Linked DNA regions of Homo sapiens: all the other regions are linked to region 3. The links are contacts of gene promoters, found by promoter capture Hi-C in blood cells and fetal thymus (Javierre and others, 2016). All regions are on one chromosome and are shown on one strand. The core of a region is centred on a gene start or on the middle of the fragment in contact, and the rest is flanking DNA. Distances in the headings are between cores, read along the strand shown.

Evidence for each region. Contacts are between HindIII fragments. The CHiCAGO score rates a contact against its expected background, and 5 or more counts as called.
Region 1: a contact is called between a fragment that was not itself captured here and the fragment with the promoter of DOCK8 in region 3, in 2 of 17 cell types (neutrophils and erythroblasts). The highest score is 7.2, in neutrophils.
Region 2: a contact is called between a fragment that was not itself captured here and the fragment with the promoter of DOCK8 in region 3, in 1 of 17 cell types (neutrophils). The highest score is 10.6, in neutrophils.

The regions. Positions count from the first base shown.
Region 1 is chr9:501,984-504,804 of GRCh38, forward strand. KANK1 (KN motif and ankyrin repeat domains 1) reads left to right here and starts at 2,712. Exons shown (of 12, transcript NM_015158.5): 1 at 2,712-2,771. LOC105375947 (translation initiation factor IF-2-like) reads right to left here. Exons shown (of 4, transcript XM_047424276.1): 3 at 1,714-2,821. The coding sequence ends at 2,017. RefSeq lists a silencer at 2,348-2,821. The HindIII fragment of the contact is 4,681 bases long and covers 1-2,821 here.
Region 2 is chr9:473,483-476,255 of GRCh38, forward strand. It overlaps a transcript of KANK1 not described here. Among named protein-coding and RNA genes, the nearest start is that of DOCK8-AS2, 4.7 kb to the left of the region's middle. The HindIII fragment of the contact is 1,445 bases long and covers 558-2,002 here.
Region 3 is chr9:213,415-216,114 of GRCh38, forward strand. DOCK8 (dedicator of cytokinesis 8) reads left to right here and starts at 1,451. Exons shown (of 48, transcript NM_203447.4): 1 at 1,451-1,615. The coding sequence starts at 1,563. It overlaps DOCK8-AS1 (DOCK8 antisense RNA 1), which reads right to left and starts at 2,336. Exons shown (of 1, transcript NR_160804.1): 1 at 43-2,336. RefSeq lists silencers at 1,206-1,455, 1,466-1,515, 1,566-1,615, 1,786-1,925. The HindIII fragment of the contact is 3,855 bases long and covers 1-2,700 here.

The DNA of each region.
Region 1 (2,821 bases), core at 214-2,713, 290 kb after region 3:
ATAATTCTATCATCAGTAAATGGTATAATGGGTAGGGGGAGGAAGAAAGTACTGAAACATACTACAGCATGGATGAGCCTTGCAACTATTATGTTAAGTGAAAGAAGCTAGTAGCATGTTGTTATGTTCCTAGTTATATGCAACGTCCAGAATCAGCAAATCCATAGAGACAGAAAGTAAATTAGTGGTAGCCAGCGGCTGGGAGTAGGGAGGAATGGGGAGTGACTAATGGGTATGGGGTTTCTTACTGGGATGTCAATGTCTGGAATTAGTGGTGATGGTTGTGTGACTTTGGGAATATATTCAAAACCACTGAATTATACATTTTGGGAGTAAATTGTATGGCATGTGAATTGTATGTCAATAAAATAACTAAATTAAAAATGAAATTTCAAGTATAAATCCACTAAAAATTCAGAATCTGCCATACTTTTGATTGATTCGTTTTGCTTACTCTTGAGGGCCTATCAATGTTTACTGACTAAATGCAAAGAGGGAGAAATAAAGGAGAGGTGAAGGCTGGGAATTCTGGGGATGGAGAGCACTTTTTTTTTTTTTTTCTTAGAGTCGTGCTCTGTCGCCCAGGCCAAAGTGCAGTGGCATGATCTCGGCTCACTGCAACCTCAGCTTCCCGGGTTCAAGGATTCTCCTGCCTCAGCCTCCCGAGTAGCTGGGATTACAGGTGCACGTCACCACGCCCAGCGAATTTTTTTGTATTTTTTAGTAGACATGGGGTTTCACCATGTTGGCCAGGCCGGTGTTGAACTCCTGGCCTCAAGTGATCCACCCATCTCGGCCTCACAAAGTGCTGGGATTATAGGTGTGAGCCAGTGCACCCGGTCGAGGGCACTATTTATTTATTTATTTTTGAGACAGGGTCACACTCTGTAGCCTGGACTAGAATGCAGTGGCTCAATCTCTGCTCACTGCCGCCTCGACCTCCAGGGCTCAGGCGATCCTCCTACCTTAGCCTCCAGAGTAGCTGGGACTACAGGCGCGCGCCATCGCGCCCAGCTGATTTTTTTTTTTTTTTTTTTTTTTTTTTGGTGAAAACAGAATTTCACTGTATTGCCCAGAACTCCTGGGGTCAACTGATCTACCTGTCTCGGCCTCCCAAAGTGTGAGGATTATAGGCCTGAGCCACTGCGCCTGGCCGACGAGCACTTTTAAAATGCAGGAGTCTTCCTGCCTCTGATATCTCATCCCTTATCACCATGCAAACAATTCTCCTTTTCATAGAAGAGTAGACATTTGGGGCGGGGTGGTGGTGGTGGGGGATTTTAGAAAATATCTACTGCATCCAAATGCCCTACTCTACAGACGAAAAAGCAAGGCCCAGGAGGAGGAAAGAGTTTGCTTACTGCCACCCAGTGAGCTGGCAAAGGCGCTGAGATTCAAAATGAGCTTTCCTGCCTTCACATATCTTCCGGCTGCCCTTTGCCTATTCCCTAAACAGTCAGGAGCCATCAAGTTCAGGAATTTGCAGGTGTGCTTCGCTGTGAACTGTGGAAAAGCAGCGTCTTCTCCCCAGAGGCAAGCATGTCGCCTTGTGAAGTTTGATGGCTCTTCACTTGCACACTCACAAAAAAGACTGAGCGTGTGTAACGCCCTGCTGGATGTGTGCGGTGCTAGAGAGCTTGGGGGTGAGGGGAGGACTCTCTCCCTTAAGAAAATCAGTTGACTGCAGAGCTAACATTGTTTTTTGAGTAATACCTGGTTTTTATAAAGTCGTCCCTTCAGTTCCCAAGCTCCTCTTCTGTTTGTTCAAGCCACCTTCAATTTGAAAAAGACTGAAGTCACAGCTTCTCAATCCCTACTAATTTCTCATGGACCTACTGGATTGCTCCAAATCGAGTATTTGGGACTGAACTAGGAAGCCAGTTCAATCCTGAGCCCCCGAGGCAGGCGTTGGGTCTTCTGTGGAGTCCCCAGAGACCTGCAACCTTCTGAACACGCATCCTCCCCTTTCCGCCGAGGACTCTGTCCTGCAGCCGAGCCAGGGCGAATGCACGGAGGTCACAAGGGAGGTGCCCTTGGAGGCGGGAGGTTTCTGGCCGCCGGGGCGACCGTGCTGACGAGGCACCTGCAGGAAACAGAGCTCTGCACGCTCCGGTCCCCCTCACCCGGGGAGGGAGAGGAGGTACAGAGGCGCTGGGGGAGGACGTCGAGCAGGCCAGCCTCGTTGCCAGAACCCCCGCCCCAGCCGGAGATGGGAGCACCGCACCGTCTCACGGGGGCTGGATTTCTTCTCCCCTTGCGGGTGTGTGTGCGAGGATGGACGTGGTAAATACGGGTTGGCAGAAGGAGCGAACCGCGGTGGAGGAAGTTCTTCTGCTTAGTTCTCGCCGCGGCGAGGCCCGCGGGCCAGGCGCGGCGACGAAGGTGCACGAAGGTGCCCCGCGGGCCTGGTGGAGTTGCAGCGGCGCGCAGGCGCACTGAGGGCCGCCCGCGGCCGGCTCCGCGGTACAAAGAGCGCCCCCGCGGGGAGCCGGGCGTCCTCTGGGCGGAGGGAGCAGCCGGGGCTTCGCCGGCCCGCGCCGTTCTTCTCACGCGCCGCTCCGGGGCGCAGCCACAGCTGTCGCCCACCGCGGGTGAGAGGCTTGCTGGTCCGCCCCGGCTTCCCCGCCCCGGCGGCGGCCGTGCGGTTCGGGCTTTAATTCTGGCGCTTGCCAGCCGGGGCCGACTCCGCCCCCTGCGCCCCGCCCTTCCCCGAGCTCCGGGTCCGCGGCGGAGCGAGCGAGCGGCCGGCAGGTTGGGAGGAGCGGCCGAAGGTGAGTGACGCGGCGGGGCCGTGCCGCGCCCCGTGCCGCGGCGAGGTTGT
Region 2 (2,773 bases), core at 30-2,529, 260 kb after region 3:
TGTGATCATCAACCATAATCCCTAGAGGGTCACCTAGAGTTATCCTACAATGAGGCTTACTTGGGTTTTCTGATAGGTATAATACTGAGAAAATTTGCTATGGTTAGCTATGGGTATTCACCACTTATTTTAGTGTATATCATCCCCCAACAAACCACAGGCACCTGTGATCATCTGGGTATGTGTTCAGGAACTATCTTGCACCCAGAAAGAACAAGAATTTTTTTTTTTTTTTTGAGACAGAGTCTCTCTCTGTCACCAGGGTGGAATGCAGTGGCACAATCTCAGCTCACTGCAACCTCTGCCTCCATGGTTCAAGTGATTCTCCTGCCTCAGCCTCCTGAGTAGCTGGGACTGCAGGCATGTGCCACCACACCTAGCTAATTTTTGTATTTTTAGTAGAGACAGGGTTTCACCATGTTGGCCAGGATGGTCTCGATCTCTTGACCTTGTGATCTGCCCACCTCGGCCTCCCAAAGTTCTGGGATTATAGGTGTGAGCCAGTGTGCCAGCCAAGAATTAATTTCAACATTAGACTCAGCCAGAGTTAATGAAGAAGCTTTCCCCACATGATGGCTCCTCACAAGAAATACTATCTATTTATAATATTCATTGGCTTTACTTGTCTTTACCAAGCCTTCCTGAGTGTCATCAGTGGGTGAGTGAGTGTATGGATAGGTACCTGCCTATCTGTCTGCCCATGGTGATGAACACATCACTGTAGGTCAGCAATGACATTGAGTCTAAATGCTGTTGGCCATAAGGAAAATAGTGACATTCCCTGGCTCAGAGGAAATGCTGGTAGGAAAGCCATATGGACTAGTATTTATAAGTACAAGCTCAGGGGTCAAAGATGCTGAAGTTCAATGCCTTGTCCTGTCTCTTACTAATTAGTGATATTGGACATATTGATTAATTGCATAAGTATGTTTCTCACTTATCTATAAAATGAGATGTATGAGGGCTAAATGAAATGATGCATGTGAAAAACTGAACAAGGTGCCAGGCCTAGGACAAGGGCTCAATAAATGTCAGCGATTATTTTATTTGATGAACAAAAGAAGGCAAATGTTCTTTCTTTGATGCCCCCTATCTTTTCCCTGTGTCGTTTCTCTAAAAAAGTATATGTGTGTAATTTCTATGCCTTCCCTCCACTCTCCCATTATCTACCACTTCATCATCCTCTCACTACCCATGGCCACTTTCCCTCATTATCTTTTCTATATTTCTTCCCTCCTCCCCTGAAATGGGGTTGAGCAGGGGGAGATCAGAGGATGAGAAAAGGCAGGGAGACATTGGTGGCAGGGTGACAATGGAGCACCACAAGCTGTCTAGGCCATCTAGACTTTCCCTGAGGACACTTCAGTATCTCTGAGAATACCATTTTCTCAGGACTCCTCACACTGGGAGAAACCTTAGCAATCATCTGATGGTGTACTTGTTACAGTAGATAGGCAGACATGTGCAGTGCAGGAGAGGGCCCCCCACCCTGACCAGGAATGTCAGGTGACCATCAGGTGATGGTCACATGGTTGTTACACCGTCTCTCTCAAATAATAACTGGTTGCAGCCAGCACCAGGGAAAGGCAGTCTCCAAATAGATAGGAAAAACCTGAAAGTGACAATCAGCAGCTTCACAATAAGATCTCAGGAATTGGGCAGGTGGGCTCAAGCATGTGCACTAAGAGGCAAAGTGGCGGAGTTTAATTGGTAAATGACCTTCCTGTAGGAATGCTACGCTGGTAAGGGAAGAAAGCCTCAAGAAAGCATCTGTACCATTCCAGCAAATACACTGTGCATGCTCCCCTCCCAAATGCTAGCAGGCCACTGCACATATGGACAGCCCACCCCAAGGGAAGAATTGGGAGAAGTAACCCAAGACCCCGAAAGTATGCCAACCTGTAAGACCGCAAGTCAAAGGTCAAACTGTGCACTTGATCTCACAAGGTGCCCACTCGGCCCTCTTCCAAATATACTCTACTTCCTTTCATTCCTGCTCTGAAGCTTTTTAATAAATTTTCACTCCTGCTTGAGGACTAAGCTCTGATCTTTTCTTATCTTCCAAATTCCTATCTAGGGGGTCTGGGGAGTTATGCCCTACAAACCAAAAATTCTCATCAGATGGGTTTTATTTAACCCTATATATTGTGACTTTTTAGTCTGACTCTGGCATAATATTACATGACAAAATCAAAATATTTTATCCCATAACATGTCTCTTTGGCATATTTTGAAATGGCCCTGCAAAGCCATCCTTTGTAGGGGAAAATTTGCATCTGTAAAGAATCTCTGTTAACATAGCTAGATATTTTTCTTCCAGGCGCTCCCATCTGAAGAGATTAAGAGTCTAGCACCTTTTTAAAATTATTTATTTATTTATTTATTTTTGAAACAGAGTCTCACTCTGTTGCCCAGGCTGGAGTGTAGCGTCGCCATCTCAGCTCACTGCAACCTCTGCCTCCTGGGTTCAAGCCATTCTCCTACCTCAGCCTCCCGAGTAGCTGGGATTACAGGTGCCTGCCACCACACCCGGCTAATTTTTGTATTTTTAACAGAGACAAGTTTTCGCCACATTGACCAAGCTAGTCTTGAACTCCTGGCCTCACTGTGATCCACCTGCTTCAGCACTCCAGCCTGGGCAACAAGAGCAAAACTCCATCTCAAAAAAAAAAAAAAAAGTTAGAAAACTAAACTACAAGGTCCTTAAATGCCTGCTCCACAGTATTAGCCAAACATGAACAAGATCCCAGGTGTTAGGCCGGGCGTGGTGGCT
Region 3 (2,700 bases), core at 201-2,700:
AGCCACATGTGTAATTTTACATTTTTAAAAATGCAAACCACATTTTTAAAAGGGGAAAACAAACAGGTGAAATTAACTTTAATAATATATTTTTTATATCCAAAGTATCATTTAACATGCAATCAACATGAAAATCATTAACAAGACATTTTACACGATGTTTTCTGCGCTGTCTTTAAATTCCAGTGTACATTTTACACATCCAGCAGTGGGCAATTCAGACTAACCATAATGCCGAGTGGTCAATAGCCACATGTGGCTAGTGGCTATCATATTAAATAGTGCAGGTTTGAACCAAAAATACTTCGCTTTGGTTGTTTTTTTTTTTTTCTTTTAGACGGAGACTTGCTCTGTCGCCAGGCTGGAGTGCAGTGGCAGATCTCGGTTCACTGCAAGCTCCGCCTCCCGGGTTCAAGTGATTCCCCTGCCTCAGCCTCCCAAGTAGCTGGGACTAAGGCGTGCGCCACCACGCCCGGCTAATTTTTTGTATTTTAGTAGAGACGGGGTTTCACCACGTTGGCCAGGATGGTCTCGATCTCCTGACCTCGTGATGCGCCCGCCTCGGCCTCCCAAAGTGCTGGGATCACAGGCGTGAGCCACCGCGCCCGGCCTGCTTTGGTATTTTTTAAGAGCAAGTTGGTAAATGGAGGCATTATATGGAGAGTGCTCGAGTATATATAGCACAGGTTAGAGCAGCACGCCGGCACCTTGAAGCGAACACGGGCTCCTCCACTCCCGTCAACACTGGGACTTTTCTGTTTTTATCTTGAGTTTGAGGCCGGGCTTCTTAGCAGACCTCAGTCTGAAACTGAAATAAACCTGGACGCAGCGTACCCTTGAATCGCAAGAACGCCGCCTTCAGTGTTTCTCCGGAGAAAAGCATTCACGCCAGGTTGTGACGAAAACATTTTTTGAGAACTCATAATGTTTATTCCTTGGATGAATCCATTATATTTATTTAGTGTCTCAGGAAGGATGATGGGCATATTGCTTGCAAAAGTTGATTTGAATCCTGATAGATTCCACTAACTTTTTTGTCTTTTTTTTTGGCTGCCTTCTTCGAGAATGGTGTCAACCCTTAATAACACCTAGCCTTACGAATCCCTGGGGTGATTCCCGACCTCGCCAGCTTTGTGGGGCTCCCCCGACTTGCCTACATTCCCTGGCAGCCTCGCAGCTTCGGGCAGATGGAGCTTCCGGCCTGCGCGCAGTGGTCGCCTGTCGTCCGCCCGCGCTCCCTTCGGCCGGAGGTCGGCGGCCCCGGGCAGAGCGCGCCGTCTGCCCCAGTATCGGGAGGCCAGTTCCGCGCTGGGCCCACGCCCTCCTCGCCCGCCGCTGCCTGCGCGCCAGGCCGGGTGGCGGAGCCGGCCGTCGCTGCTCCGAGCTCGGACCCTCCCCCGGGGTGATTTCGGCTTAGAAGGTGGAAATGCGGAAGTTTCCAGCGCCGACCGACAGACGAGGTTTGCGCTTGGCTGGGCATGTTCCGCGGCTACTCTGCGGCGCGCCAGGCCCCCGCTTTCCGCACCCCGCGACCCTAGAAGCCACCGAACCGCCGGCGGGCCATGGCCACTCTGCCGAGCGCAGAGCGCCGCGCGTTCGCGCTCAAGATCAACAGGTAAGACGCCCCCCGCGGCGCGCAGGTTGCGGCCGGACAGCCCAGCGCTGGTGTGAAGCGGAGCTTCGCTGCAGGGGCCGAGGCCGGACGAGTCCATTCGCGTCCGCGGCGGGGCGCGCCTGAGACCTGGGGCGCCCGGTTCCCGAGGCTGCGGCGGTGGAGCCGCTGGACGCGCGGCGGCTCCTGCGCTGGGCCCGGCGAGGTCCTCCCCAAGAATCTCGGTGCTCCTGGATGTCCTCAGCCGCCGGGGATCCCTTCCCCGAACAACCTCGCCCGCTCCGCCCTCCAGGTTCTTACAGGTGGCCGGGTCCCAGAAGGGTGATAGGCGCCTGGGTAACCGTGTTGGGCGCGCCACGGAGTGTCTCATAAACGGCTCCTTCCTTTGAGGCAAGTCTGAGCGCGGGGGGAAGAAGTGAAGTGGCTGAAATTAGAGTTGCGTTTGAGGCAGGCTGCAAGCCTTCTGTCGTCCTGAGCAAGGCTCCGTCCTCGCCTGCTTCATTATTCCAGAAAGAGCTTGGCTCCTGGTGGCATCGCTATTTTTATACCCTGGTCCAAAGGAGCCATGAAGTGGAAAAAGTGATTTTTTAAAAAATCTACACTTAAATAAACCAAAAGAAATGGCCTGTGGCTGACATTTTGAGATTTACAGAACTCCAGCAAAAAGCTAAGGACTGGGGGATCCCAACTCACCATCCAATTCCTAATCAAAGTTGCACAAACTAAATATGTAAGCACATTTACTGCTCAAAGTTCTCAGTAAAGGTGCTTTAACTGCAGTTTTTCCTCCACTAAAAACTGCTGACAAGTAATTGGGACATTTTTGTCTTGCCCTGAGAAAGCTAGACTGTCTAGTTAAAAGATAATAGGAAACTCATTCTAAAGTGTCAACTTATTCTATTGCCCACAGGGCTGTCCGATTTGTTAATCTTCACTTAGCTGAGCCTGTGAAAGGTGGATTCCACCGTAGGTTCATCTTTGTGCTGTTAGTGTGTGAAGAGGTTTGAACAAGGAATTAAAAGCCTAGAAAAACAAGGCGATAAGGTCTTCTAGAGGGCATATCGAGCTTTATTGACGATTTTATTTCC